Regions from separate parts of the Homo sapiens genome. Here region 2 is linked to region 1. Evidence: promoter capture Hi-C in human tissues and cell types (Jung and others, 2019). All regions are on one chromosome and are shown on one strand. The core of a region is centred on a gene start or on the middle of the fragment in contact, and the rest is flanking DNA. Distances in the headings are between cores, read along the strand shown.

The links. Contacts are between HindIII fragments. The study calls those that stand out against the background at their distance.
Region 2: a fragment that was not itself captured here is called in contact with the fragment with the promoter of SOST in region 1 in 2 of the 25 tissues and cell types used here (H1 embryonic stem cells and dorsolateral prefrontal cortex).

The regions. Positions count from the first base shown.
Region 1 is chr17:43,756,354-43,761,968 of GRCh38, forward strand. It overlaps SOST (sclerostin), which reads right to left and starts at 2,438. Exons shown (of 2, transcript NM_025237.3): 1 at 2,169-2,438. The coding sequence starts at 2,388. RefSeq lists a silencer at 4,088-4,382. The HindIII fragment of the contact is 9,966 bases long and covers 1-5,615 here.
Region 2 is chr17:43,382,381-43,387,995 of GRCh38, forward strand. All of the region lies in intron 1 of LINC00910 (long intergenic non-protein coding RNA 910), which reads right to left. It also overlaps the pseudogene RNU2-4P. Among named protein-coding and RNA genes, the nearest start is that of LINC00910, 3.7 kb to the right of the region's middle. RefSeq lists enhancers at 4,569-5,084, 5,085-5,600. The HindIII fragment of the contact is 7,633 bases long and covers 1-5,615 here.

The DNA of each region.
Region 1 (5,615 bases), core at 1,188-3,687:
AGGGCAGCTGCTGTGGAGGCGAGGGACTGAAGGGGAGGTGATCAGGACAGGAATTCATTAGACTTGAAAGGAATCAAAGGCAGTGTGTCCAACCCCCTCATTATCAATGAGAATACTGAGGCCCAGCCAGAGAAAAGAACTTGCCCAAAAGGCTGGGCTGCATCTCCGGACTCCACTTCCCTGGGGTCCCAGCACCTTTTGGCTCCGGCAAGAGTGGAGGCTCTGCGTTCGAGCATCCATGGGAGGCTGGGCTGGGGGATGGAGCTGAGGGCTGCTTTTTACTGTCGTTACTTTCCTACCATAGGGGCCCTGAGCTCTGACCCAAAACCTACAGGTTCAGCTGCCACAAACATTGACCTGGCTCTCTGCTGGGCACATTTCTTGTTCTGTGTTATCTGAATGGGCGCCTCATGGTGATACTCCCTGGGCAGGCAGAGATTGGGCTCCGAGGCCTGGCCTGATCCCCTGCACACACCTTGACCATGTCTCCTATGGTGGACTTAGATGGGTGGGAGCTTTTTAAATAGCTGGTCGTCGTGTGAGTACCAGTCCACCCCCAAAGGTTTCATGGGGATAGTTCCAATGTGACAAGAAAGAATGAAAAATAGTCTTAAGACCAAACCAGAGAGGGGACAGAGAAGGCCACCCCCCACCCCCACTCTGAAGAGCAAGCACAGCAGGGGAGATGTGGCCACTGCCATCGTCTGGGGCTGCTTTCTGGTCTGTGGGCTGGTTTGCATCCTCACCTCTGCAGGGCTGGAATGTGTGTGTGGTCAGGGGGGCATTTGCCCAGGGAAGGGGGCATTTTGCGGCTTTTCGAGAATAGCGCCCCTAGGCCAGGCACTTCCTCTGCAGATCATGACTTTGTTTTGAGCATGTGGCTTCCTCAGGGGCTGTGGCCTCTCGTGGGAGTCCAGCAAGGTGGACATTTTGTGTTTGGGTTCCTTACAGCCCTTCAGGCAGTCGCTGGAGCCCAGCTGACCTTGCCTAGAAGGGGAGCTGTGGGGGGAGGCGCCCTTGTCCTCCATTTTGAAGACGGAGGGTCCTGGCTGGCCTCCCATGCAGTTGCCCTTTTTAGCACCCCATAGTCCCAACAGGTTGTGAGGCGGGGAGGGCTGGGGTCCAGGAGCCTGGGCAGTGGACTTCTCTGCCACCTGGATAATGGCCAGAGGACAGGGAAGCTCTTAGTCTGAAGTGTCATTTCAGACGCCCCCATGGCCTCAGGATTCCTGCCAATTATAGAGCCAGATGCACACTGTCACCTGGGCTTCTCTGTGCAGGCCTGACCAGGAACCCAGGGTTCCTCTTCCTTCTCCCTCCCCTGGAATGAGGCAAGGTTGGGACTGGGGTGGCTGCTGAGGACAGATGTCCCTACTCCTGCACAGAGGATGCTGCTCTCCCCTCCAGGGCCTGGACTCAGCTGCACCCATGTCAGGGGCTAAAACTGTGCCGAAAACTCCCATTCCTTCAAGTGCCAGCTCCCTGGGCAGGCCGTGGGCAATGCACACTGCAGGGGTGCCTCTCTGGCCTTCCTCCCCACTGCTTTGTGGAGATCTGTCCCCCACACCCCCCCACACACCAGGGCTATCTTGCAGTTGGATCAAACCAGGTTCACACCTCAGCTCTTCTCACTACCAAGTTACTGAGTGCCTGGAACCTGTTTCTTCCCCTTCGAGCTGGGGGTTCACCTCCTGGGGATTCCATGATGTGGGTCTGTGTGGTGGGGACAGCCACCACCAGCATAGAGTGTCCGGTGCCCCACAGGTGCTGTTCTGTGGATGGGAGGCTCCCTTACCTTGTTCCCTTCCCAGTGGTACCAGCAGCTGGACGTGGCTCCTATATTCCCAGGAGGAGATTCTTTGAAACCTTTTCTTTTCTGAGCCCCTGAGCCTGTTCTGATGCCCTGATGCCATACCCTCACCACCCCAGCGTCCTCCCTGCCCTGGGCTCTCACCAGCGTCTGTTGCCTCATGCCTCTGCACCTGAATTTGAAGGCTGCACCAGCGAGCCATTCTTCCCCCACCTCCAGGCAAGACTGTTCCTCGACCAGTGCTGGCAGAGGCCAGCAATCTTCACTGGGTCTACCCCAGTCTTCCAAGCCTCCCAAAGAGAAGTTTCTAAAACCTCCCCAGGATCTTTTACTAAGAATTCTCTCCTCCACCCCATACCTTTGGTCTCAAAGGGGTGGTGGGGAGGCCGCCCTCCGTTCTCCGCCCGGTTCATGGTCTTGTTGTTCTCCAGCTCCGGTGGAGGCTCGGGGTACTCTCCGAGCTCGGGGATGATTTCCGTGGCATCATTCTTGAACGCCTGCCACCCCTGGCCCTCCACTACACGGAAGGCTGTGTGTACCAGCAGGCAGACGAGACACAGGGCCAGTGGGAGCTGCATGGTACCAGCCAGAGGAGGGCACGCCACCTTCCAGTAGCACAGGCTCTGGTCTCCAGCCGAGACACGGTCGCCTTTTTAAAGCCCCTCTCTGCTTCATGCCAGCCAATGAGGACAGGCTGGGGCAGGGCTGGTCCCATGTTTCCCTCAGCCCCGGAGGGAGGGAAAGGGGTGTGCTCAGAGCAAACCCTCCCCAAAGACTTCTCCTCTAGCTCAGCAAACTTCCAAATTGCTGCTGGCACTCCCAGGTGACCCAGAGAGAGGGGGCGTGTGAGGCAAGGCCCAAGCCTGCTCTCCGGCACCTCCCACGTGCTGGCGGCTGTGGTTTTCAGATATCAAAATGAGCTCCGGCTTTTAATTGTCTGTCTCCCTGGGCCCTCGGGCATTCTCAAAACAAACTGTGGACCCGCTCAACAAAGAAAATGTGCAGTTCTGAGTGCTTCGCGGGGCTGAGCCCGGCCTATTCCATTTCTCAGGCCAAGTTCATTTGTCACCCCACCAACAAATGGCCCAAGGCGTTTCTGTTTGACCCCCATAGACCCAGCCAGAGGCAAAAAGATGCTTTTAAAGAAATCCCATTGGTCCCAACTCCACAAGTCTCAGCATTCATTGTCCTAACCAAGAAAGCCTCTCTTGGTATTCTCTGGAAGGCAAGAGAGAGAACTAGAGGGTCAGAGCAAGGGTGCCCGCTTGGGAGAGAGGGCAGGATTCTGGTTACAAATCGAGGATGCGCTGGTCACTCAGGCTCCTGTGGTGGACAGCACAGAGGAAATCCCAGCTCATGCTCCTCAGGGATCCTGTGCACTGTGACAGGCACTTCTGAGCCAGGGCACTCACTGTGGCTCGCAGGGTGATGTGCTGAAGACAGTCATTTCCCCAACCAGTCTGTGTGTGTGAGAAGACAACACCAAATTCCTTTCCTTAGCAAAAGCCACAGCCAGCGTTTTTAGTGCTGACATTTTATTTTCTTGTCTTCCAGCTGGTTACATTTTTCAAAAACAGTTTTGAGTCCTGTATGGAAAGCTTCATTGGTGCACACCACAGGATGTGTTCCATGAAGCCATCCCAGGACCAAGTGGTCACAAAGAAGCTAAGAGAAAATGCTGCCTTGGCCCTGCATATAATGAGCCACACAGGGCCGGGGCGGGGGGCGGGGGGGCAGGTAGAGGCGTGGGGGAGAAGGATTCACACCTGAGGTGCAAGAAGAGAAAGGAAGGCCAGAGGAATCTTTCATTGAAGACAGATTGTTTGAGGACAAGCAGCTCCTGTGAAGAGGCTGCCCAGATCCTCTGGTATTTTAACTGGGCAATGAATCAGCATGCCCCACCTGCAGAGCCTCTGCAAGTCCTTTGCCACCTGCCTCAACTTGCAAGTCGCTGTGTCCATCTGCAGCCGACTGTCCTCCTTTCCATCATCCATCATCCGACACATGAATGCAGCTGCTCTGACAGTTTTACAAGCCAGACAGAAGCCCCCTCAGGAAGGGCCCTCTCTGATACCTGCTTCCTAAGTCAGTTTCCTTCAGGGCAGATGAAAACAGCTGTGGCCATTGTTGGGGGTGATCTATCTCTCCCAGCAGAGCCGGTAGTGTTGTGAGAAGCTGGCCCTCCGCGCCACCTCCCCTTGTCTATGACCCTCCAGCCTCCTTTTCCCTTGCTCTGGAATGTGGACTGTTAACCCTCTCATGACCAGACGACTGCCTTCTTGCAATGGACTTGGGAGAGAGCAGTTCTGATGCCTGGGTTCCTTGAGCAGGTAGGATGGATGCTTATAGCCCCACCTGCTGTTGGGAGCGGCTGGACCGTCTGCATTAAACAGAGGCAGTGGGATTCATCCCTGGAACGCGTCTGCCACCTGCTGGAGACAAAAGGAGGGGTGACTGCAGGATGGCAAGTCTCAGGACTGGACGTGATTTCCTTTCCTTTCCTTTCCTTATTTGGAAGTGAAGTAATATTAAAAGGAAAAAGAAGAATCCAGTGGACTTGAACCTCTAAATGATCCACACCCCTCTGAATGGCTCAGCGAGAACCTGCTGTGACATCTTCTGCTGTTTCATTTAATGTTAAGTCATTGACAGCTGTTTATTTTTACTCAGTCCACAAACTTGTCATTGTTCACAGTACTCCCTGGAATTAAACCCCCAGGGTTTTAGCTGATTCCTATTGTGAGTAGTTTAGGTTATTTCCAATTTTTTTTCCTATTTCCAGCAGGGTTGCTATGAACATCCTTGTACGGCTGAAATTTTTTTTTTTTTCTTTTTTTGGCAGATTCTCTCTGTGGCCCAGGCTGCAGTGCAGTGGCACAATCTTGGCTCACTGCAACCTCCACCTCCTGGGTTCAAGCAATTCTCCTGCCTCAGCCTCCCGAGTAGCTGGGATTACAGGAATGCACCACCACGCCCGGCCAATTTTGTATTTTTAGTAGAGACGGGGGTTTCTCCATGTTACTCAGGCTGGTCTCGAACTTCTGACCTCGGGTGATCTGCCCAACTCGGCCTCCCAAGGTGCTGGGGATTAGAGGCATGAGCCACAATGCCCGGCCTCAGAGTAATTTTTTAAATTAAAATTTTAAAATGTGGATATAATTATAAATTTAAATATACTTATAAGAAATAAAAGCCTGGGCAACATGGTGAGGCCTAGTCTCTACAAAAAATTTAAAAATTAGCTGGGCATGGGGTCGCACGCCTGTGGTCTTAGCTACTTGGGAGGCTGAGGTGGGAGGTTCACTTGAGGTTGAGGTCGAGGCTGCAGTGAGCCATACTTGGGCCACTGCACTCCAGCCTGGATGACAGAGTGAGACCCCGTCTCAAAAAATAAAAATAAAAAAAAGAAAATGCAGACTCCGTGTATCCTTTATCCAGTTTCCCACAACAATAACACCTTGCGAAACTATAGGACAATATCACAACTAGGATATTGATATTGACACAATTTACCAATCTTACCCACATCTCCCGTGGTTTAACCTCTACTGTGTGCGTGCACACGCATTCACGTGTGTGTATACTTAGTTCTATGCAATCTTGTCACGGGTAAATTTGGGGATCCACCACAGTCAAGATAAAGCACAGCTCTGTGACCACAAGTCTTTCTCCTGTTGCCCACCTCCTTCCCTCCTTTTCCCTCCCTCCCACAACTAACCCCTGGCAACTACTCATCTAATCTCCATTTCTGTCATTTTTTTTTTTCACTTCAAAATTGTTACATAAATGCGGCCAGGTGCGGTGG
Region 2 (5,615 bases), core at 1,113-3,612, 370 kb before region 1:
GCTAATTTTTTTTGAGACGAAGTCTTGCTCTGTCACCCAGGCTGGAGTGCAGTGACACAATCTCAGCTCACTGCAACCTCTGCCTCTCGGGTTCAAGCGATTCTCTTGCCTCAACCTCCCAAGTAGCTGGCACTACAGGTGTGCGTGTCCAGGTAATTTTTGTGTTTTTAGTAGAGACAGGGTTTCACCATGTTGGCCAGGCTAGTCTTGAACTCCTGACCTCAAGTGATCCACCTGCCTTGGCCTTCCAAAATTCTGGGATTACAAGTGTGAGCCACCACGCCCAGCCACCTGGCTAATTTTTGTTAATTTTTTTTTTTTTTTTGGTAGAGATGAGGTCTACCTATGTTGCCATGGGTGGTCTCAAACTCCTCCTCAAGCGATCCTCCCCCCTCGGCCTCCCAAAGTGCTGGGATTGCAGGCATGAGCCATTGCGCCAAGCCCATATGCCCCTTTAAAAAAAAGATATTTAGTAGAAATGGAGCATCTTGCTACAGTCTTGCTGCTCACAGTGTGGTCCCCAAACCAGCACCATTGATATCATCTGGGGGTGGGTTAGAAGTGCAGAATCACTGGCTCCAGACCTATTGCGTCAGAACCTGCATGTTAACAAGGTTCCCCCAGAATGCACATGCACATCAGAGTTTGGGAAGCATTCTGCTCTGGGACTTGATGACTGAAGGAGGGAGGCTGAGGGAGAGAGAAGAAGCAAATATGTTTTTTGAGACCTCAATTCTCACTACCAATATCTGAAACTTGGGGACCACATGGATTTGGATAACAAGTGATACAGTTATAACTCCAGATGTCTACGCTGGTGGCTGAGTGGGTCTTAGAACACTTTCTGGGGTTATAAAATACAGAATCAGCAAGTTGAGGCAGAAAGGCCTGAAGGGAGATGGCAAATCCGTGTGAGCAAGGCTAAGTCTAAAGACCCATGGGCCAGGGGTGCTTACTGAGAACAGAGTACGTGGCACCATTAGGGGCAGAGGATGGAAGCAAGCACATATGAAACTAGGCATGGTGGCATGCTCCTGTAGTCCCAGCTACTCAGGAGGCTGAGGTGGAGGGTCACTTGAGCTGGGGAGGTCGAGGTTGTGAGCCATGGTCATGCCACTGCCCTCCACCACGGGCCACAGAGCGAGACTTGAAAAAAAAAAGAAAGAGAGAGAGAGGGAGAGAGAGAGAGAGAGAGAGAGGGAGAGAGAGAGAGAGGGAGAGAGAGAAAGAAAGAAAAAAAGAAAGAAAAAGAAAAAGAGAAAAAGAAAGAGAAAGAGAGAAAGAGTTGAAAATCTTGGAGGCCTTTGAAAACATAGAGAGACTGGACTTCTGTTTCTATGATCAGGGTGAGGTATACAGGTGGTCCCCAGTAGCCATGGACTGGGAGAGATGACACGGAGATACTACTTTGTGTAAGAGAAGAGTACATGTTTCAGAATCACAGGAACACCAATGTGTAATGAGCAGGCAGGCCGAGAGAAATGACAACGTATGTCCTTATAAAGACTTAGAGGCAAATGTTTAGAGCAGAATTATTCGAATAGCTTTGAACTGAAAACTACTCAAACGTCCATCAGTGGGTGAACGGATAAACAAAATGTGATATTCAGGAATAAAAACATAATGGTACAACATAATGGCACATGTCACAATGGGGATGAACCTCAGAAACATTATGCTCAGAGAAAGACATCAGTCAGACACAAAAGACCACATACTGTGTAATTCCTTTCATATGAAATGCCAGGAACGGGAACTCTAGACATAAAGTAGATCAGTGGTTAACTCAAGATGAGGGTGGGAGTGGGCAATGACTGTGTAGGGGAGGCAAAACTTTATCTCCTTAGGGTCCTTGCTGGGCCTGAGACTCAAACTGACATAGATTAGCAGGAGGAAAGCTATCATAAAAGCTGTCAATGTAAGTTTTACATGACACGGGAGCCCTCACAAGGAAATGAAAACCCAAGGCCACGATCATATATGTGCATTTGTTCTGGTTATTTTCTGCCTCCCCTTCCACTTGCCATTCTTCTCTCCCCTGCTCTTTTGTACTGCATAGAGCTGCATAAGGGTCGTGAGCCAAACAGCACTCCCTCTTGCTGCAGCTGGTCACAGGGCTGCCCCTGCTACTCATCCTGTGCCTCATGGGCAACATGTTATGCCCATGTCCAAGGTACAGAGAAGTGGACCCAGAGCCAGGGAGAGGTGATAGGGACCTTTGGGCGGGGTGGGAGGTGCTTATTGAGAACAGAGTCCATGTCACCATTAGGGAGAGAGCATGGAAGCAAGCACGTTTGACAATCCTGTGTCTGCCCTGTTTCTGGAGAGGCAGATGCAGACAGCAGGTCAGAGGGAATTTGACTGGACAGGAACTTGGGGGGTTGAGGGTAGCCATTGCATATAACCAAACCTGTTACACATTTCTTTGATATCTGATGTCATTGTGACATGATCTAGAAACCTCTGTCAAAATAGTTCCTAATGATACTAAACAACAACTGAGACTGTTTATTGAGTTTGTGAAATCAAGGAGTGGCTGCTCTTCTAGAAGCAGTGAGTTGATGTCTGTTCTAACATTGTTCTGAGACAAGGAAACCTTTTTATACTTTAATAGCCAGGGTCAGAATTTCTCAGATTGTATATTTGCATGTAGCACAGGAGATGCTCTTTTAATAAAAATCCAGAAATTTGTTGTGCACATTATTCAATAGAGAACAATATCAAATTAAACCAACAACAATGACACTTAACATTTGCCCAAAGCTTGGTAAATGTTGATGGTCACTGTGTACCTTCAGATAGCTGTGTACTCTAACAGAGAGAATGATTTCAAAATCAGTTGAAGAGAAAACGCCTCTGCCTGCCTGTACCTGTATATTACTGTCAATGTCAATCAGGAATGTGTGGGTTCATTCCAGTTATTTTCCGGCTCCCAATCTACTTGCCATTCTTTCATCTCCTGCTCTTTTGTACTGCATAGAGCTACAGAAAGTTAGTGAGTCAAACGACAGCCCCTCTTGGTGCATTTGGTCACAAGGCTGCCCCTGGTACTCAACCAGTGCCTCCTGTCCTCTCCCCTCCAAATCCCCCCTCCTTCTCAGCTATCAACTCTGTTAATCCTGGTGGTTTCCCTGGCTACCGTGACCCAAACTCTCATTCCTGAAAAGTCTAAACCCCTCAAGGCCACATCTTTCTCAAGTCAGGGTTCCTGCACTTGTCCATTCATGTCACAGGTGGACCTGGGAGTAACACGTGGCACCCAAACAGATCACCAGAGTTCACATATATTCCACCTGCCCTCCCTGCATAAGAGCACTACTCCCTCTTCCTGATGATGGTTCAGGGCCATTAATCCCTGCCAAGATGGTGACTGCTCCTGCCTGCTAGTTCAACCTGTCCAGCCACAGCTGTAGCTTGAAGGCTTGAAGTTCAATGGGACCCACTTCTGCTTCCACGCTTTCTTTCCTTTAATTTTAATTTTTATTTATTTGAGACAGGGTCTGGCTCTGTCACCAAGGCTGGAGTGCAGTGGTGCAATCACGGCTCACTGGAGCATCCACCTCCCAGACTCAACTGATCCTCCTGCCTCAGCCTCTGAAATAGCTGTTGTACAGATATTCGTCACCCTGAACAGGGCTTCACTACCTTGCCTAGGCTGTTTCTTTTGTGCTTTGTTTGTTCGTTCGTTTGTTTCGAGATGGGGCTCTGGCTTTGCCGCCTAGGCTGGAGTGTAATGGCGTGATCTCACCTCACTGTGGCCTCCTGGGCTCAAGCCATCCTCCCACCTGGGCCTCCCAAAGTGCTGGGATTACAGGCATGAGCCACAGTGCCCGGACTGAAGATATCCTTTAGAGAAAGAAGCAGCGGGTAGTTTTGCCAAGGCCAGACAAGATTTCTGGAGTTTGGAAAGGGTGAGAGATTGGGTCAGCAAAAGACACATTCTGATCTTTATGCTGGGATGCAATTTATAGATACAGGGATGAGACCCAAAAAAGCTGGGAGAGATTTGTCATCATGGTTGCAAGGCAACTGCCGGTGGCTGATCCCGTAAAGGATACACATACCTAGAACAGAGCCTAAAAAAGCATCAAGCATGAAGGGTGGAGCCACGATGCTTGGACTCGAGTTCTGCTCCTGTGCATTCCTCGGTAACTTAAACTACCTGTGCCTCGATTTTTCCTGGGGAAAAAAGGAAGTTTGTAGCCAGTACATTGGTGCCTGCCTTAAAGTAGAACTACTCCATGGGCTGAAGAGGAAGTTCAGCTGGGCGTAGTGGCTCACACCTGTAATCCCAGCAATCTGGGAGGCCCAGGCAGGTGGATCACCTGAGGTCAGGAGTTCGAGACCAGCCTGGTCAACATGGTGAAACCCCGTTTCTACTAAAAATACAAAAATTAGCTGGGCATGGTGGCGGGTGCCTGTAATCCCAGATACTCGGGAGGCTGAGGCAGGAGCATTGCCTGAACTCGGGAGGCAGAGGTTGCAGTGAGCCGAGATGGTGCCGTTGCACTCCAGCCTGGGTACCAAGAGCTAAACTCCATCTCAAAAACAAAAAACAAACAAACAAACAGAGTAAGTTGAAGTCCAGCCTGGGCAACACACCACTGGAATCCATCCCTTTGAAAGGTCATCACCCCTCCACAGCCAAGCTGAGATTTAAAGCCCTCCAAGTAAAGTCGAACATGTTCCCTACTTGGAAATGAATATTCTTGTTTTGGGTCCTAGGATACTCTCCATAAATCATGAACCTTATGATACTTAAAGGAGTAAGAAAACCTACCAACTATCCTAAACTACCCGGCGCAGTCTTTTCTTTCTAACCTTGCAAACAGGTTGTATCCCAGGAGAGGGAGCCCCATTCCTGGAGGTACTGCAATACCAGGTCGACGCGTGGAGTGGACAGAGCAAGCTCCTATTTCATCTCCCTGCTCCAAAAATCTATCTAATATAATTGTTCTCTGATAGAGGACGTATCAGATATTAAACTGATAAGAACAGATACTACACTTGATCTTAGCCAAAAGGACGAGAAGAGATGTCGTCGCCTTCCTCCCTGCCATCACCGTCCCACTCTCATCTACATTCAAGACGCGGTGAGAGCCCCAGCCTCGCTCCTTGCCTCATTCACTTTGTCTTGTCCACACCAATATTGACGCCATTACACACTCGGGCTGATTTCTTATTCTCCACGTTTTAAAAGAAAAATCTGCCGGGCGCAGTGGCTCACGCCAGTAATCCTAACACTTTGGGAGGCCGAGGCGGGTGGATCACAAGGTCAGGAGATCAAGACCATTCTGGCAAACACGGAGAAATCCCGTCTCGACTCAGGAGCTCGAGACCAGCCTGGGGAACACGGTGAAACCCCATCTCTACTAAAAATACAAAAAAATTAGCCGGGCGTGCCGGGCGCGGTGACTCACGCCTGTAATCCCAGCACTTTAGGAGGCCGAGGCAGGTGGATCACGAGGTCAGGAGATCGAGACCATTCTGGATAACACGGAGAAACCCCGTCTCTATTAAAAATACAAAAATTAGCCGGGCGTGGTGGCACGTGCCTGTAGTCCCAGCTACTTGGGAGGCTGATGCAGGAGAATCTCTTGAACCTGGGAGTCCGA